Linked DNA regions of Homo sapiens: regions 2 and 3 are each linked to region 1. The links are contacts of gene promoters, found by promoter capture Hi-C in blood cells and fetal thymus (Javierre and others, 2016). All regions are on one chromosome and are shown on one strand. The core of a region is centred on a gene start or on the middle of the fragment in contact, and the rest is flanking DNA. Distances in the headings are between cores, read along the strand shown.

What was found. The method cuts DNA at HindIII sites, captures the fragments that hold promoters and counts their contacts. A CHiCAGO score of 5 or more calls a contact.
Region 2: a contact is called between a fragment that was not itself captured here and the fragment with the promoter of TRAF4 in region 1, in 9 of 17 cell types (activated CD4 T cells, naive B cells, non-activated CD4 T cells and 6 more). The highest score is 11.0, in activated CD4 T cells.
Region 3: a contact is called between a fragment that was not itself captured here and the fragment with the promoter of TRAF4 in region 1, in 2 of 17 cell types (endothelial precursors and fetal thymus). The highest score is 5.8, in endothelial precursors.

What each region holds. Positions count from the first base shown.
Region 1 is chr17:28,742,594-28,745,293 of GRCh38, forward strand. TRAF4 (TNF receptor associated factor 4) reads left to right here and starts at 1,418. Exons shown (of 7, transcript NM_004295.4): 1 at 1,418-1,662. The coding sequence starts at 1,520. It overlaps NEK8 (NIMA related kinase 8), which reads left to right. Exons shown (of 15, transcript NM_178170.3): 15 at 1-862. RefSeq lists enhancers at 494-1,494, 518-812 and silencers at 518-812, 1,267-1,676, 1,697-1,896. The HindIII fragment of the contact is 4,112 bases long and covers 1-2,700 here.
Region 2 is chr17:28,934,519-28,937,218 of GRCh38, forward strand. The region is part of intron 2 of PHF12 (PHD finger protein 12); the gene reads right to left. The region is part of intron 1 of LOC101927018 (a long non-coding RNA gene); the gene reads left to right. Among named protein-coding and RNA genes, the nearest start is that of PHF12, 16 kb to the right of the region's middle. The HindIII fragment of the contact is 7,754 bases long and covers 1-2,700 here.
Region 3 is chr17:28,957,572-28,960,271 of GRCh38, forward strand. It overlaps SEZ6 (seizure related 6 homolog), which reads right to left. Exons shown (of 17, transcript NM_178860.5): 8 at 2,127-2,321; 9 at 1,763-1,901; 10 at 1,454-1,650; 11 at 376-570. All of the region lies in intron 1 of LOC105371716 (a long non-coding RNA gene), which reads left to right. Among named protein-coding and RNA genes, the nearest start is that of PHF12, 7.4 kb to the left of the region's middle. RefSeq lists enhancers at 1,377-1,877, 1,878-2,378. The HindIII fragment of the contact is 1,160 bases long and covers 777-1,936 here.

The DNA of each region.
Region 1 (2,700 bases), core at 168-2,667:
CTCCACACAGACCCTACCCTTTCCCCTAGCCCAGTTAGAAAATAAGTCTGGGCCGGCGGCGGTGGCTCACACCTGCATAGGCAGTGCTTTGGCCAGGAGGATCCCTTGATCCCTTGTGGCCAGGAGTTGGGAGACCAGCCTGGGGACCATAGCGAGACCGCTGTCTCCACCAAAAAAAAAAAAAAAGAAGAAAATAAGGCTGGGTGCGGTGGCTCACGCCTGTAATTCCAGCACTTTGGGAGGCCAAGGCGGGCGGATCACTTGAGGTCAGTAGACTGAGGCCAGCCTGGCCAACATGGTGAAACCCCGTCTCTACTAAAAATACAAAAATTAACCAGGCATGGTGACGGGCGCCTGTAATCCCAGCTACTCTGGAGGCTAAGGCAAGAGAATCCCTTGAACCCGGGAGGTGAAGTTTGCAGTGAGCCGAGATCGCACCACTGCACTCCAGCCTGGATGACAGAGCAAGTCTCCCTCTCAAAAAAAAAAAAAAAAAAAAAAAAAAAAAAGTATTTGGTGCTTACCGGGACTCTATCTCCATACTTTGGAGCAGGGCAAGCCAGGGCCTGCCTGGACTGGCCATTAGGCCTGCCTAGCTTCTGCATAGCCCGGGGCTGGGCGGTCCCCGGGAGTGCTGCCACCTCCCCTACACTTTCATCCTGAGGCAGGATTTGCTAGACGTCGGCTTGCCTCTCTTCCCCAGCAGGAGGGCAGGAGTCACTAAGTGCTGCAGAAAAGATCCGCGCTGGAGATTGCCCGTCCCCCCCATGCCTTTCCCCAGAAACAGTTGAGAGAATGGGTAGCTGGTGGGACCAGACCGGTTTCCCAGAGGACAGGAAGGCCAATAAAAATATCAGCTGCCTGCCTGGAGTGTGGTGTCTTCAAGGGTGGGGGTGGCGACCAGGCACCCCAGGACTGGGCTGGGCCCGACCTCGGTGGCAGGGCTGCGGCCAAGGGAGGAATGTGGGCGCAGCCGGAGGCTGGGGCCGAGGTTCCTCTGGCCCAGCGCCCAGTCCAGCCTCCCCGCCCCAGCTGGGCTCCCCGGAGCTGGTTGCCAGGCTTCGGCTGCCTAGCACCTGGAAGCTGGGGCCACGGTTCCTGGGCTGCTCACGGCCCCGGAGGCCGAGCTGTTGCCTCTGGAGAAGAAAACCTTTGTGGCGCGGCCCGTCCCCTTTTCCGACCCGCACTTCCCCGGGGCCCGCGGGCTCTGGGGAGAAGCGGAGCCACGATCTCTGTCCCCCAGGGGAAAGAAAAGCCCATGATCCCGTGGGTGGGCGAGACTGGCGGTCACCAGACCCAAAAACCATGCACTCGGGGGTGGGCGGGGCCGCGAGGGCGCGCATTAGGACCGCGCGGCCGCGGTCCGCCCTCTCTTCCGGAGGGCGGGCTTCACAGCCGAGCCCTGGCCGCGACCGCCAGTCGGCGCCGCCCGGAGCCGGGAGCGCCGCTCCAGCGAGGCGCGGGCTGTGGGGCCGCCGCGTGCCTGGCCCCGCTCGCCCGTGCCGGCCGCTCGCCCGCCATGCCTGGCTTCGACTACAAGTTCCTGGAGAAGCCCAAGCGACGGCTGCTGTGCCCACTGTGCGGGAAGCCCATGCGCGAGCCTGTGCAGGTTTCCACCTGCGGCCACCGTTTCTGCGATACCTGCCTGCAGGAGTTCCTCAGGTGCTGGCCGGGGAGCAGGGGACAGCGGGGGCGGGGCGGGGCGGGGGGCGCCGCCTGGGGAGGGTCTCGGGCCCGGGGCAAGGCGGGCCTTTGTCTGCGCTGCGACCCTGTGACCTCAGGGGCGCCCCGTGACGTCACGGGGAGGGATGACGTCAAGCCCCGAGGGAGGCCCCCCCCGCAGGAATCCGAGGGGTCCGGGCGGGTCCCAACTGCCCGGCCCGGGGCGGAAGACCTCGGCGCCTTCTCGTGGGGTCAGGAGGGGAAGAGGCCCTTCCCCGTCACCTGAGAGCCGGCGCGGCCTCAGCCTTGAACTTTGAATCCTGGGGGAAGAGGACAAAACCCGCTCCCGCGTGGCAGTTTGAGCCTCCGGAGCTTTCCCCCATCTAACCTCTTCTGATTCTTCGAACGTTCAGAGAACGGTAGCTATTGTTCTCCCATTTCACAGATCATGAAACGAGATTCAAAGAAAGGCTGCGACTTGCCCAGGGTCACATAGTTACTTAAAGGCTTAACTAGGATTTAAACCCGGACTGCTTATGATCACACAATGGAGGAAGGACTGAATCCTCCCCCGAAGAAGGACCCCTCTAGGCGGCTCCCCTCTCTCCCGGGGGCTGGAGTAAGGCGGGTGGTCCATAAGTCATGAAGAAGGGGGTCGCACTCGTGTTGTTACTGAACTCCCGCTGCCCTCTCAGGACGCAGGTTAGCCCTTGGCTCTTGGGCATCCATCAAGTTTCTGGGCGCCCTGTATGTCTTGAATCTCCTGCTCACGCAGGGAACCCCTCAGGCCCGGGTGTGGGAAGCAGGGTGAAGGAGCCCCGACTCTTCGGAGGTCATGCCCCCAGAGCGCAGGGGAAGGCCGAGTCGGCCACTGCCTGGCTGTTTGCTGGGACGAGGGGATCGAGGGCCTGGCAGGGATAGTACCTCTGAGACGCCTGCCTCCGGTGCTCCCTCCCGCCGTGCCTCCCTCCCTCGCTCGGTCCTCCGTAGCTCCTACTGGCGGAAATCTCAGCAGGCCCTTTGTTTTCTGTTCCCCAC
Region 2 (2,700 bases), core at 160-2,659, 190 kb after region 1:
AGTGGAGACATTTCTTCTGAAAATGAATGTTTAAGTCTGTCTAGAGCACAATAGTGTTTGAACCTTTCTTTTCTTTCTTTTTTTCTTTTCTATTTTTTTTTTTTTTTTTTGAGATGGAGTCTTGCTCTGTTGCCCAGGCTGGAGCGCAATGGTGCGATCTCTGCTCACTGCAACCTCTGCCTCCCGAGTTCAAGCAATTCTCCTCTGGAGTAGCTGGGATTACAGGCACCCGCCACCACGCCCAGCTACTTTTTGTATTTTTAGTAGAGACAGGGTTTCACTATCTTGGTCAGGCTGGTCTCGAACTCCTGACCTAAGGTGATCTACCCGCCTATGCCTTCCAAAGTGCTGAGATTACAGGCGTAAGCCACTGTGTCCAGCATGTTTGAACCTTTAGATTCCTTCTGAGAATTATCTGAGTACTTGGGATGGTGAGCTCTGGAATAGTTGTCTTCTGTACCTGAACTGGCTTGTCTTGGAAAACTGGTAGCTTTTTAGCCAACAAGCCAAGGACCTCTACTTTATTTTCTGGCTTCAAAAGAGCATAGCCTGCATTGCTATGAGACATGCATTCTTTTCCATAGGCAGAGATGACAGTGCCCTATGAAGACAGAGCTCTTGCAGAGTATCTTCCCATTTTCACTGCTGTTGATAAATTTCCTACCAGATCATTTGTTAAAAGGCCCTGGCCTACAATTCCTGGCCAGAAAGCGACCGTTCACTGCTTTTACAACTCACTATTTTATTTTATTTATTTTATTTTTTTATTTTGAGATGGAGCCTCACTCTGTCGCCCAGGCTGGAATGCAGTGGTGCGATCTCAGCTCATTGTAGCCTCTGTCTCCCGGGTTCAAGAGATTGTTGTGCCTCAGCCTCCTGAGTAGCTGGGATTACAGGCATGCACCACCACACTGGGCTAATTTTTGTCTTTTTAGTAGAGATGGGGTTTCACCACGTTGGCCAGGCTGGTCTTGAACTCCTGACCTCAAGTGATCCGCCCTCCTCAGCCTCCCAAAGTGTTGGGATTACAGGTGTGAGCCACCACTCCTGGCCCCAGCTCACTATTTTAACCACTACCTGATCTTAAAGACATGCTGTTAGTTATAAAGCTGTTCATAACAGTAAAGCCCTAAATCTTCAGAGACTGTACATTCAATTGGAGGGTATGTTTCTCAGTTTGGTGTGGCTCTCTGTGAGGCCTAGAGGGCCTACAAAGTGTTAAGAGTAATATTAACATACAAACCAATTCCTAAAGCCAACCTCTTCAGCATGACTCCAACATACCTAGACTCCCATAAACAAATCCAAATGGCCCATCTCTACTGCTGAGAAGGTTATCTAGATCAGTCTATTTCTGGAGTCATCAAGGAGAAAACCACAAACATACATCCCTCAGCTAACTGTAATGCCTATACTGACAGATTTCTGTTTCAAAGATTCAAATCGAAGCCCAGAGCCAGATGATCCCAACTCTCAGCCCGAGGTTAAAGTTCAGTTTTAATTTAGAATGCCTTGCATTCACTAATAAGGCTGCAGCTCAACACTGCAAGTAGAAGATGTTGGTAGTTGTCATGGTTCTTGGCGCTCTAATTAAGAGGATCTATTTCAAGTCATATACCAGTGTGGTTGATCTGAGTCTAACCTCACTCATCTCCCTCGCCTATTAATACATGTGAACCTGCACGACATTAACATTTACTTCAGATTTAGTCGCTACCAGTGGGACCTGTTGCTCCACAGCACCATGTTAATTATCCATCCAGAACAAGCAGTTTCTCAGTCTGGAATTGGAGGGGAGAGCGGGGGATGGGGGAATAAGAGAACAAAGGGAAGAGGCGAGAGGTAGAGGGAGAGAAAGCAAGTAGATGAAAAATATTTAAGAAAAAGTACACTCCATTTTCTCTTTCTGGATTAACAAAATAATTCTATTTAATACAAATACTTAACAGGAACACTATGTAAATAGCATATCCATATACAATACACCAACAGCCTACTAAGCAGGTTCTCTTCCAAAAGAGGTCAGTCACATGAACTGGTAGGGTCTTTCTTGTCAGAACCCGTAATTCTTCAGGAATCAGAAGCTCTCTAGCCATCTATAGCAGTTTCAGTTTCAGTCAAAATAAAACATCAGTTGGACTAAAAAGAAAGAGTTCACTGCCCCTATCATCATCTGTATGCCTCCCCACCCTTTTTTTTGGTGGGGGAAGAGGTGTTCAGCAAGCAAACAATAGGACTGAGCAGTTTTGATTTTTAATTTCACAGTTCACGGGGCTCATCCATCCATCTGAGGACCACTACCAGATAAAAATCCTGCAATTATATTTAGTCTCACTGTGTAAGACAAACTGCAAAACATAAATACATGCTCAGAACTAGCCTACTCTCCCTCAGACTGGCCCTGCGGCCCTCATCCAGCTCAGAAAATGTGTTGATACTAGCCAAAATGGGGAGTGAAGGTGATCACTGAAAGGACCACAATCATGTCTCAGCCTCCTAGCAGCCATTTTGCTCTATAAAGGGAGCCATGAGCACAGAGAACCAGCCTTTTATAAACGAAAACAAACTTATGTCCTGGAAAAGCTAAGTGGTGCTGGGTAAAGTTTAATTTAAATTTTAATTTAAATTAAAAGTTGCATTAATACACCCAAATTTTAAAGTGCATGCCTTGAGGGAACAACATTTAATGAAATGTAAATG
Region 3 (2,700 bases), core at 107-2,606, 210 kb after region 1:
CAAGGAGAACTAAGCAGAGGCCAATCCACCCTGGCTTTGTTCCAGGCCAGCTAACTTCTTCATGTCGTATGGGTCTACCCCCTACGTATCTGTCCCTACCATTATGCTAGTGTGTCCCCCCATTTGTCCCCTTCCCATCTATTAGGTTCGATAAAAACTGATTGGCCATCTACCAGGAATGAAATACTTAGAGTACGTGGCTGATAACCCCATGAAAAGTATCATCCCCATTTCACAGATGAGGAAACTGAGGCTATAAGAGGTGAAGGAACTTTGAAGATACTAGCTAATAACAGCTACAGTCTGGTTCAGAATCCAGGAGAGAGGTTTGGAGTTTGTGTTGGGAAGGGGAGCGTGGGGAACAGGTATACTCACCCCTCTGGCATGAGGGCAGGTCCTCACTCCAAGTTAGGTCCCACTGGCACATGAGGACACTGGATCCCACTACCTGGTAGCCAGGGTAGCACTGGTAAGTGACCACGGTGCCGTGCACTAGCTCAGGCTGCGATGGGCTCTTCCAGCCATTGGGGATCTCAGGCAGCTCCGGACATGTGTCATTGCGGGGCACCTCTGGGGGCACAGAGGCACAAGATGCAGGCCCTCGGCCAGCACCAAAGTGACTGTCCCCCTCACCTTGAGGGCACTCTGGCTCCTGCTAGTTTGTCCTGGACCTAGACTGTCCTGGGCGGGCTCAGGGATCCATTCCTCCCTGCTCAAGGGCCCCTCCTTGACTGCCTGACATTGCTCTGTCTCCTAGATTCCAGGGTTAGCATTTAAGCTTTGGCCTTACTTCCAAAAGCACCTTGACCAGTTCCTTAGGCCTGAGAGATGGGGCCAGGTAGGGTGAGGGAAATCGTCACTTCTATGAAAGATTGTCAGAAAGATAGAAGCCAGCACCTTTCCTTAGTTCCCCCATTTTTGTTTGAAAGTTGTTCTGGCCAGGTGCAGTGGCTCACACCTGTAATGCCAGCACTTTGGGAGGCTGAGGTGGGCAGATCACTTGAAGCCAGGAGTTCGAGACCAGCCAGGCCAACATGGCAAAATCCGGTCTCCACTAAAAATAAAAAAATTAGCCAGGCGTGGTGGCATGTGCCTATAATCCCAGCTACTCAGGAGGATGAGGCACGAGAATCGCTTGAGCCCAGGAGGTGGAGGTTGCAATGAACAGAGATCACACCATGGTCTGGGTGACAGAGGGAAACTGTCTCAGAAAAAAAAAAAAAGGAAGAAAAAGAAAGTTGTTCTGCTGCCTACCCAAACCCCTCTTGCCACTATAGAATTCTGGCTCTCCCTCAGGGCAGATGGAGAACAGGACTAGCTTCCTCCAGGTGATCCCTGGTGCTTTTCCAGCTTACTCTTGTCTGAGACAGCATTCAGGCACCTCACTGCCCTAGCCTCTTTGGCTTGCCATGGCTTGCTGTCTGCACTCTGAGTGGGGTAGGGACAAGCTCACCAAAGAAGTGGATGACGAAGCCCTGCTGGTAGCCCAGCACTGAGGTCCCGGGGTCCGACTGGAACTGAATGGTGACATCAGCCATGGAGGTAAAGAGCTTGAAGTGGCTACGGGGCCCTGAGTACTGGCCCAGAACCCGGGCCGTCAGGTCATCCCCATCATAGAAGGTAAGCACATCACCAGGGCCTATGCGCAGCCTGTGAAGGAGGAGCGTCAGGGCAGAGCCGGCCTGGGGGCCCGAGGATGGGCTGGACAAGGGATATCCCCAGACCTCAGGAGTTGGCTCGGCCTGACCCGGTAGGCACTCACACTCGGATGTCCAGCATGATGCGCTTGTCCTCTTCCACATGCACACCCCAGATACAATCCTGCCCACGACCGTAGGGCTCTGGCCAGTTGGGAGAGAGTACCACGCCAGCCGAGTCTGTGATCTCCCCGCTGCACACGGCTGGAAGGCAGAGGAGGCCCAGAAGGGTCTTTTCAAGCTTACCATGGTGTTGCTTACCATCTGCCCGCAGGAGTGCCCACAAATTGCTGGGACCCCCCACCTCCTCCTTGGAGGAAGCCTGAACCACGCATATCACAGGGCCCCTGTGGCCCCGGGCTCTGCTGCTATTCTCCTGGTATGACCCTGCCTTTTGCCCGGTAGGCCCATCCACTGGTGTCTACTGACCTCGGCAGGCTGGCTCTGTCTCATTCCACTGGGGGTCGTGGGGGTCAACACACTCGATGATGATGGAGCCCTGCTCCAGGGTGTAGCCAGGGTCGCAGCTGAACTCCACAGTGGTACCCACAGGGTAGGTGGGTGTGCTGCTGCTGAAGTTACCGTATTTGACAAAGGGCTCATAGCAATGGCCCTGCTGGAAGGCTGTAAACCACAGGTCCCAGCCCAGCTCAGCCTTGACTGGTATTAAACACAGTGGGCAAGCATCCCCCTACTTCCCTCCCCAGAGCCTTTCTTTTCCTGGGTACGAATGACAAATATATGTCCTGGGGTTGGAGCAGGAATGTGATGGAGGAGGGACAGCCAAGAGCATCCATCCCTATTATGCTCAGGAGGCCATCTTGATTACCATCCTGTTCCCACTGCCTGGTTTTGTGCTTAGTACACAGAAGGTACTCCATACATGTTTTTTGAATGAATTAATCAATGCATGCATGCATAAATGGTTCTAGAATGTCTCTTACAGCAATTCTTTCTTAAGGGTTGAGGCCTTTTTTGCTTTTCAAAATCTGGAGAATTTATT